2 separate regions of the Homo sapiens genome follow, and region 1 is linked to region 2. Evidence: promoter capture Hi-C in 16 types of primary human blood cells and fetal thymus (Javierre and others, 2016). All regions are on one chromosome and are shown on one strand. Each heading gives the region's core, a stretch centred on a gene start or on the middle of the fragment in contact. The rest is flanking DNA. Distances are from core to core; before and after follow the strand shown. Region 1 holds the start of ANAPC10 (anaphase promoting complex subunit 10). Region 2 holds the start of GUF1 (GTP binding elongation factor GUF1).

What was found. Contacts are between HindIII fragments. The CHiCAGO score rates a contact against its expected background, and 5 or more counts as called.
Region 1: the fragment with the promoter of ANAPC10 here is called in contact with the fragment with the promoter of GUF1 in region 2 in 1 of 17 cell types (total CD4 T cells); the score reaches 7.5 in total CD4 T cells.

What each region holds. Positions count from the first base shown.
Region 1 is chr4:145,095,058-145,099,754 of GRCh38, reverse strand. It overlaps ANAPC10 (anaphase promoting complex subunit 10), which reads left to right and starts at 1,559. Exons shown (of 5, transcript NM_001256706.2): 1 at 1,559-1,635; 2 at 3,644-3,770. The coding sequence starts at 3,656. It overlaps ABCE1 (ATP binding cassette subfamily E member 1), which reads right to left and starts at 1,444. Exons shown (of 18, transcript NM_002940.3): 1 at 1,336-1,444. RefSeq lists enhancers at 1,133-1,212, 561-1,432, 1,463-1,722, 1,803-1,852, 986-2,185 and 1 more. The HindIII fragment of the contact is 4,584 bases long and covers 508-4,697 here.
Region 2 is chr4:44,676,403-44,680,836 of GRCh38, reverse strand. GUF1 (GTP binding elongation factor GUF1) reads right to left here and starts at 2,417. Exons shown (of 17, transcript NM_021927.3): 1 at 2,050-2,417; 2 at 285-396; 3 at 1-143. The coding sequence starts at 2,214. RefSeq lists a silencer at 2,079-2,238 and an enhancer at 2,310-3,198. The HindIII fragment of the contact is 9,672 bases long and covers 1-4,434 here.

The sequences.
Region 1 (4,697 bases), core at 310-2,809, about 100 Mb before region 2:
CTAATGATGTTTAGTATCACATGAAATAGTCTAACCCATGCTTATTGTAGTTTATTAGTCTTACAAAACACGTAGAAGTTAGGAGTGGTACACGGCTCTGATTTCAAAGAGTTTTAAGTTTAAGACATTTAGAAGAACTCTAACTTAATATTGTTTTCTCCCCCTCTCTCCCAATTGTTAGATGCTCTTCCAACAAACAAACAAACAAAAAAACTCCCTTTTTTAAAATAGGGGAGAACTAAGTTCTCAAAAAGCTCACAAACCCCAAACAGCTTTTGGTTCAAATACAGGTTCTGAGCCTTTGGTTACACTAACAAAGTATTAGTGTCAGGTGGCTGGTATACAATGAATATTCTCAGAATATGGGACAAACTACTGCAACATAAATGCCACTATCATAAATGACTAGTTAGCAGTCCTGTTGGGAAAGAGTAAAAAAATAAAACATGTTATTTGGACAGTTCTTCCTCTTATAGATTTTTACCATCAAAAAAGAGAAAATAAGCTTATGTAGTTAATGGGAGGTGGGAATTCGGCTTTGGCTGTCATTCATTCACAATACGTATTAAATGCCTACAATGTACGAAGCCCTGAAGAGATAATAAAGGTATTCTGAGTAAAGACATCAACCTTGATCTCAATGAGTATTAGATACAATAAAAGGAAAAACGGGTAAGGGGAGAAAGTGCCTAGTGCTACAAAAGCGTACCAAAAAAACTATAGGATTTCTACTGGGAAACTACTTGGGACAACCCCAGTCATAGCTGCGTACACGCTGTTCTGAGAAAAGCAGAGTGACATGTGGGCATCATTTCTATAAAGCCTGGGAGTGGACAGCGAGTATTCGACTTCATGGCGGCAAGATGCCATGACTCATTCCACTCAACAAAACGTGGAAGCCACGACTTCCCACAACCAAATATGCACATGTGACAATATATCCATTTTGGGTGCTGGAGGAGTGTGGGGGTACTAGAGAGTGCTGTAAGTTCTAAAGGTGCCTTCCTCTCCAGCAGGTTTAGCTTCAGGGCGGGAGTGGGGTAAAGGGGGAGTGGAGACTACGGCATCTAGGTCCATTCTCGAAGTCCCTCGCGGGTGTGGCAGGCAACAGCGGCGACAGCCGGGTCGGCTGGAGGGGAAGACCGAGGCGCCCCCAAGCTCTCGGCGTCGCCCGCGCTCCATCAGTTCCAGCTGTCCCGCAGGAACCGCTGCCACGCGCTGCTGCTGTCTCCGCCACCTAAGGCCTAACCAAAGGCTCTCGGAGAACGTCCCTACATTCTTTCCAACCTGGCAGATGGCAGCTAACGGCCAAACCTCTCCGGGCTATTCACGTACCTGGAGAAAACGATCCCCTTGCGGAGGGGAGCACAGAGGCCAAATCAGCTCTTGCCTTCACTTTTCAGCCACACAGCGTGTTCTCACGGCCACCGGCCAAAATGGCGGTGCCCAGCCGCCGCACGCGCAAGCCATAGGACGTAGTGCGCGCGCGCGACATAGAGCGTGAGGCGGAACCCTGGAGGTAGGTAGGGAGATATGACGTCATTGAGCTGCGACCCTTGTTCAACGCCGTTGGCGAAGCCAGCTGCTGGAGGTGCCGAGAATCTGAGTTTCGGCAAGCAGCCAGGTCTGGAAACTGTGAGTGTGTGGGCTTTTCTCCGACGTCGAGCGTGGTCCTAGCGTAAACAGATGCATTCGCCTCTCCGGTTTCAATCTTTTTTTACGTTTGCGCTTTCCTCAAGGCCGGTGGGTCAGGAGTGGAGCCTTAGTCATTCTAACGCTGGAGGTGTCAGTAGGACCAACAGAGTCTGGTGCCGACACGGCTTACTGTTGCGCGCTCTTCTAGGCCTCAACTTCCTCTCAACTGTGTGGTCAGTTCAGGGCCGGGAATCCAATCTTTTCCGAGCTCCATATTTTATCCACTTGGTGGCGTCCAGTCCCAAGTCCGGCAGTTGAATTCTGCCCTAAAGATGGGCTTTATTTCTATCTTTTTTTAGGTAACAGGACATTCAGTTAGTAATGATGGTTGCAGGTTGAATAGTCTCGCCCTAGATCTCACCTAACTTGCAGGCAAGTGACAACTAGTTCATAACTGAACCTATTCATCTGTTTATTCATTCAGTAAATTACTTATTGAGCGTTTAAGCCTCAGGCCTTGCCAAAGTTTACAGTCCGTTGTGTCTGCCGTTATTTAGTAAGTATCAAGTGCTTGTGTGCCGATTAAAGAACAACTTCGGATACAATGGGAGGTGTCAAGGAAACGGTATGCAGAACTATTGCACCTATTTTGAATAGCATATATAACAATGTTCAGTAGCAGTAACTGCGCTACCAAAGCAGTTTTACATATTGTTCACGATCCAGTATTGAAGTGTTTTTTCACATATGAATAGACTTAGTAAAATTAACAAAAGATGTGAAAGATGAGGTCAACCTTTTTAGAATGGGCCAGTTATTCACTTCAAAATCTTGAAGCCATTTTCCTGACCTTATCTTCTATGGTAAGAGCATATGTAAGTGAACTTTTAACATTTTTTTCTTATTTTTGTGCTTTTTGGGACAGTGTCTTGCTCTGTTACGCAGGCTGGAGTGCAGTAGCACGATCTCGGCTCACTGCAACCTCCGCCTCCCAGTTCAGGTGATCCTCCTGTCTCAGCCCCCCTGGGACTACAGGTGTGTGCCGCCACACCAGGCTGATTTTTTGGAATTTTTTTAGAGACAGGGTTTCACCATATTCCAGGCTGGTCTCGAACTCCTGGGCTCAAGCAATCCACCTGCCTTGGCCTCCCAAACTGCTGGGATTACAGGTGTGAGCCACCGGGCTGGGTCTTAAATAAAACTTTTGACAGCTAGAGGGCAGGTATGACTGTTCTCTGCATCACTCAATGAATATTTAAAATGAGGATCTTAGTGGGGTGATGGGATCACACCTGTAATCCCAGCTACTTGGGAGGCTGAGGTGGGAGGATCGCTTGAAGCAAGGTGTTCAAGACCAGCCTGGGTAACATAGCTAGATCCTGTCTCTAAAAAAAAAGGAATTAAGTAAATAAAATGAGGATCAATATTTATATATTCCTAGAATAAAAGTATTTCAGTCTGACTTTTCTAGGGCTAAAAGTCATTTGAATTTTCAGGCACAGAATTATAGAACTGCATAGCATTGTAGAAGTAAAAATCATCAAGTGAACCTCTTTAACAGGAGAGGAAATAAAGCCCAGACCTACTCAAAGTCTAGGCTGATTAAAGGAGATACTGAAGCCAAAACTTTGATTCTGTGCTCTTTTGACTACTATAGCTCACTGCTTTGCATATCTGGTCATATGAAACAAAACCTGAATTCCTAAGATTTTTATTTATTTAAAAATAGAGATGGGGTCTTGCCATGTTGTCCAGGCTGGTCTTGAACTCCTGGGCTCACATGATCCTCCTGTCTCAGCCTCCCAAAGTGTTGGGATTACAGGTGTGAGCCACCATGCCCAGCCCCTAAGATTTAAATTACAGTGATTTAATTATATTAACTGCATTCTTCAGAATAAATGATTAATGTCAGGGTATATGAGTTCCATTAAATTTTTCTTGGTAAAAAACTTTTGTAGAAAGATGCCCAGTTCCTGATACAATGTGTGCATTCTTGTTTTCTACATAGAATATTTTAAAAATGACTACACCAAACAAGACACCTCCTGGTGCTGACCCCAAGCAGTTGGAAAGGACTGGAACAGTACGGGAAATTGGGTCACAAGCTGTTTGGTCACTCTCATCTTGCAAACCAGGTAAAAACTAACAAACAAAAAAGCTGTTGGAAATAGTCACTTGCAGTTTCCTTGTACAGGCATCTCCCCTTATCCCAGGGGATACATTCCAGGACTCCCAGTGGATGCCTAAAACCATGGATAGTACTGAACCCTTTCTATATTAATACTATGTTTTTTCCTATACATAAATACCTGTGATAAAGTGTAATTTATAAATTAGGCACAGTAAGAGATTAACAATAATTAATAATAAAATAGAACAATTATAACAATAGAAGTAATAAAGTAATAAAAGTTTTGTGAAAGTGGTCTCTCTCGCTCTCAAAATATTATATTGTACCCTTCCTCCTGCGATGATGTGAGAGATAAAATGTCTATGTGATGAGAGCGAGTGAGGTGAAGAATGTAGGTGTTGTGATGTAGTGTTAGGCTACTATTAACCTTCTGACAATACTTCAGAAGGAGGAGCATCTGCTTCTGGTGATTCTGGATCATCAAGCCACGATGATGTTGATGATTGGATATCAGGAGCAGATGATGTTGATGGCTAACGGTCAGGTAGTATACACAGTGTGGATATGCTGGACAAAGTGGTGGATGTGCTGGACAAAGTGGTGGATGTGCTGGACAAAGTGATGATTTATGTCTTGGGTGGGATGGAGCAGGATGGTGAGAAATTTCTTCACACTACTCAGACAGTACACAGTTTAAAACTTACCAATTGTTTGTTTCTGGAATTTCCCTTTTAATATTTTGAACCATGATTGACCAAGGGTAACTGAAACTGCGGAGATGAAACTGCAGATAAAGATACTACTGTACACTGGTCTGATTTTAATATTCCTTTTGTTTAGATGCTTTATTTTAATTCTAATGCACTGAATTTTTTTTTATCATATATCTCTGTCCAATTTCTTTACTATTCCCTAGTTAGATTTAATTACA
Region 2 (4,434 bases), core at 1,168-3,667:
ATCAATGAGATTTAAAAGGTACTGCTTTCCTTCACAATTGTAAAAGAGAGATGCTGTCTGTGCTTTAACAGTGATTCCTCTTTCTCGTTCCACTTGCAATTTATCAAGAACCTGCTTATTATTCTTTGTTTTATCAATTGTCCCTATAAACAGAAACACTTATTGATATTTCTCTGGGCTTTAAAAAAAAAAGAGAATATTACTTATAAAATTAAAATTTAAGAGTAAAAGTAATTCCCAATAACTCGCAGCCATCAGTTAAGTATGTAACATAAATGAAATACCTGTAAGTTCTAGGAGCCTGTCAGCTAAAGTACTTTTGCCATGATCCACGTGTGCAACAATACTGAAATTTCTAATATTTTCAACAGGAAACCTAGACATGTCAAGTTTTTCCTAGAAAGGGGAAATACCACATTTAGGAGTATAAATTTGGCATACTATCAAACAAGTATACCAATTCAAAGAATATTCTTTTAATCGTTGAACAATATCATTTCTAGCATTTATATTGTTTATATTATTATTCTAAGAAAAAGACATGTATGGCTAAGTTCATATTACAAGGAACATCAGTTTAATAGCCAAAGGTAACTATACAGCTAAATCATAATCCCTTAACATTTCTACACAATTTTTAGGGCCAATCAGGAACTGAATTTATTATCGTGAATGGAGAACATGAGACACCTAGAACTTCTAAAGGCCTGAGAATACCTTGTCTAGTAAAACTTTTGAGGCAATGGAGCTACAGAAAAGCTGAAAGAAGATAAATTTTCTGCTCCTATCACACATTTAATCAGGAATCAGATTTATTTAAAAATCTGTGTCTCTAATGGAGCCTCAAAATTTTATTTTAAATACAATTTTGCTACTTTGCAGCTTCTCTGGTGAGAAAGAAAAAAAGATGACATCCAACAAAAGACTTATCACTTAAAACTTAAAAATATTTTAAAATGGAACTCCTGGTTTTTCGTGTACACATCTTCTTTAACGTTTTACTGAAACACATCACAAATTGCTAGAAATTGTTATCAAGCAAAATATACCAGTTTTTTGTACTCTATTTTTTTCCAATCAACTGCATATTTCACAATCAGCAAAACCATGAAATTACAATGAAATATAAAATTCACGTGAGCTTTGTTTTTTAATAGCCCCATAAAGACAGATAATAAAAGCACAATTATAGCTGAAAGTCTGCCGAAAAAAAACTAATTCTGATGTTTGCCCTGTAGATTTTCTTTCCCTTCAGTTCAAAAGGTATAGAGAATTGCACCATCTTTATACTTCGAATTGCAATATAAATCCATTTTTAAAAACACAGGCATATTAGGGCCAAAGTTGATTAATTTAAGGTTTTGTCTTTCTGCCTACTTATAGCTTGCCTTCAGTCACTTCACTTTTCTGACTAAAATGTATCCATTCACAATTATCAGAGTTGTTGAACCTCCCACCCTCTCCCACCAGAGTCAAAATTACACAGGTTTGCTCTGGCTGAGGTAGAATGAAATAAAACTACAAAGACAGACCGAGAACTTCCTGCATTCTAGGTATTAGTCTAAAAAAGTCCACTTCTCACATCACACAAATCTCACAAATTAGCCACTGGATGTTTGATCAGTTCTGCATTCAACAAATGAAGTAGGAGAGTGACAATGTAGTAACTTGCCCAGGCCACATAGCTACTTAATTTGCAGGAAAATGGACGTTATATTAATATTTACTAGCAACTTGCTTAGTAGGCTTTTTAGAATTAAATAGATGAATAAACGCAAAGCACTTCGACCAGTGGCTCGCGTAAACAAATCAACATTTGACATTGAAAATGAGAAAACCTACAAAGTTAGTGACTTGCCCAAGGTCACACTAGTGAGGAGTGGAGGGTCGGGAACCTGAGCAGTGCTCACACTCTCCGCTCTGCCTCCCTGTACCAAGTTGCAAGCAGGGTTCAGAGCTAGTCCCAGAAAGCCCTATACATGTCCAAGATCGCATGGGGCACTCCAACGTTTGAAAACTTGGCTAAATCAGATTCCAGGGGGCAGTCACCTTGAATTCTGCGGAGCTGTAGAGCCTGTCGGTAGCCCAGGACTCTGGAGCAGCCCCAAGGGTCGGCGCGGACCGGGGCCCCGGGGCCACCAGAAGCGCGGCCCCAGTGGCTCGTGGCGCGAGAGCGCGTGCGCACCCCCAGCCCCGACCCACGAGGGTCCACATGACCCGGGCGGCGGAGGCGTCAGGAGAGGGTACCCACACGCAACAGCAGCATAGCCCGTTTTTTTTCGAAGGTACCCCCCGTAGGATCCGGTGGACAGGACTCAAACAGATCCTGTGAAGCGAAGACAATGAACCCCGGGGAGCTCTGCCCAAGTACCAGATCCGGAAGCAACCCGAAGCGGCGGCGCAGCTTGCCGACGTCTGCACGCCGCACGCTGTCGTGACATCAGCGCGTCTTGGCGCCGGGTAGTGGAGTGGTCACGTGAGTGGAGGCTTTCGATTGACTCCCTAAAACGCAGGGTGTAGACAGAGTACATATTAGCTTATATTGTCTGCTGAGTGCTGTGCCAATTCCTTTGCATTGTCTCTTTCTTACTACTGCCCTGTGGTGTGTGTACTGTCAGTTCCCCCAAACTACCTCTGGAAATCCGGACCGAGTGACTTGCCCAGGAGCTCACAGGTGGGGAGCTGTGGAGCCTGGAGTGCCGCCCAGGCAGTCTGATTCCCGAACCAGGAGCCGAGGTCTTAGTCCAGGGACTTAAAGATGCTATTATTAGCACAACGTTGAGACTTAGCCTTCTACCTAATGGCAAAATAATAATGGCACTTTTAAAATCTGGAGGTCGAAATGTATTCCCCATGTTGTCAGTGACAGAGCTAATCTTGAAGTGCATCTGAAAGGAAACGGGCCATAACATTGATTGCAATACTGAATCCAGGAAGGTTTTGGCAAGAAGTAAAGGTGGGAAAAAGTTCCATGCTGGACCCCCAATGTTTCCATCGTCATCAAGTTACCACTTCATGGAATGAGCTCTGACGAAGTAAGAATGGGGGATAAAACAGGTGATAGGAGGATTGCATCCAGTGTTTGTCTCCCACTATTTCTCTTGCGCTTTTCTGGAATATCCAGAATTTGGTGCGAAGGAGGGAGATGACAGCTGTGTTCAGTTCATCATTGTGACTGAAGACAGAATCATTCGTATTGTTTCCAGAGCCTTTGAAAGTTTCTTCATTTGGAGGATTTCTTAGGATCAAGAATTCTGTACCAGACTCAGTTCTTTCTTGGATTTTTTTTTCCCCCCTGAGATGGTGTCTCGCTCTGTCGCCCAGGCTGGAGTACAGTAGCGCTATCTCGGCTCACTGCAACCTCCGCCTCCTGGGCTCAAGCGATTCTCCTGCCTCAGTCTCCTGAGTAGCTGGGATTACAGGCGCGCGCCAGCAATCATGGCTAATTTTTGTATTTTTAGTAGAGACGGGGTTTCACCATGTTGGTCACGCTGATCTCGAACTCCTGACCTCGTGATCTGCCCACCTCGGCCTCCCAAAGTGTTGCGATTACAGGCGTGAGCCACCGCGCCTGGCCCTTTCTTGGAACTTTTATGAATTAAAACAGTACTTGATAGACGACTAATTCTGTCACACTTGTAAGAGAATGAATTTAACAACTATCTTGAAGTAAACACAATAATTTATATTCAATGTTGCCCAGACTTCCATAATTTGCACAATTACCCTCATTAATTTTCACCATATCCTGTCAAAGATAAAGGCAGACACCAGTTAAAGTGGTGAAGACAGATTTTTATTATAGTGATATACTAATGCAATCGGGAATAAGATCCAGAATGAACTAAACTACAATTTGTCCAGAGGCGACTGTATTTTAAAAGGAGAATGCGGGAGTAGGGAAAGAGAACAACTGGGCTTGATCAAAGTCAGGGAAACGGAAATTTACAAAAAACAATGGCGGAAGAATGGTCCATTTGAAATCCATCTGGGTTGTAAACTGTTGCTTATGGAAATAAGGCTCCTACCCTTCCCGCAGACACTAGGAAATGAGTGCTACTTTCACATGTTGGCTGGAACAAATAAATTATTTTGTCAGTCTTGAGCTTTCTCAGACAGAAATTTAAGGGGGCTTCATCTTAGAGATGCAGCCTTGAGCTGTTATAAACTATATGAGTTTGTTCAAGTCTTTTAATGTGTGGGCAAACCGGTAGGGGAAGGATGTGGATGAAATCATTTGTGCTGAGGGTCTGTAGTTTTTATAGGCAAGTTTGAGGCTTTGCTGATAAGAGGGCTTAGAAGAGTCAGGCTAGAGTTTGGTCAAGAATCTTTGTCAATCCTCATACCGATATTATGTACTTTATATTTTTCTTTAACTTACCTTTATATGTAAATGAATTCTTTTTAAAAGAAAACGTAGATACCATTAATGGA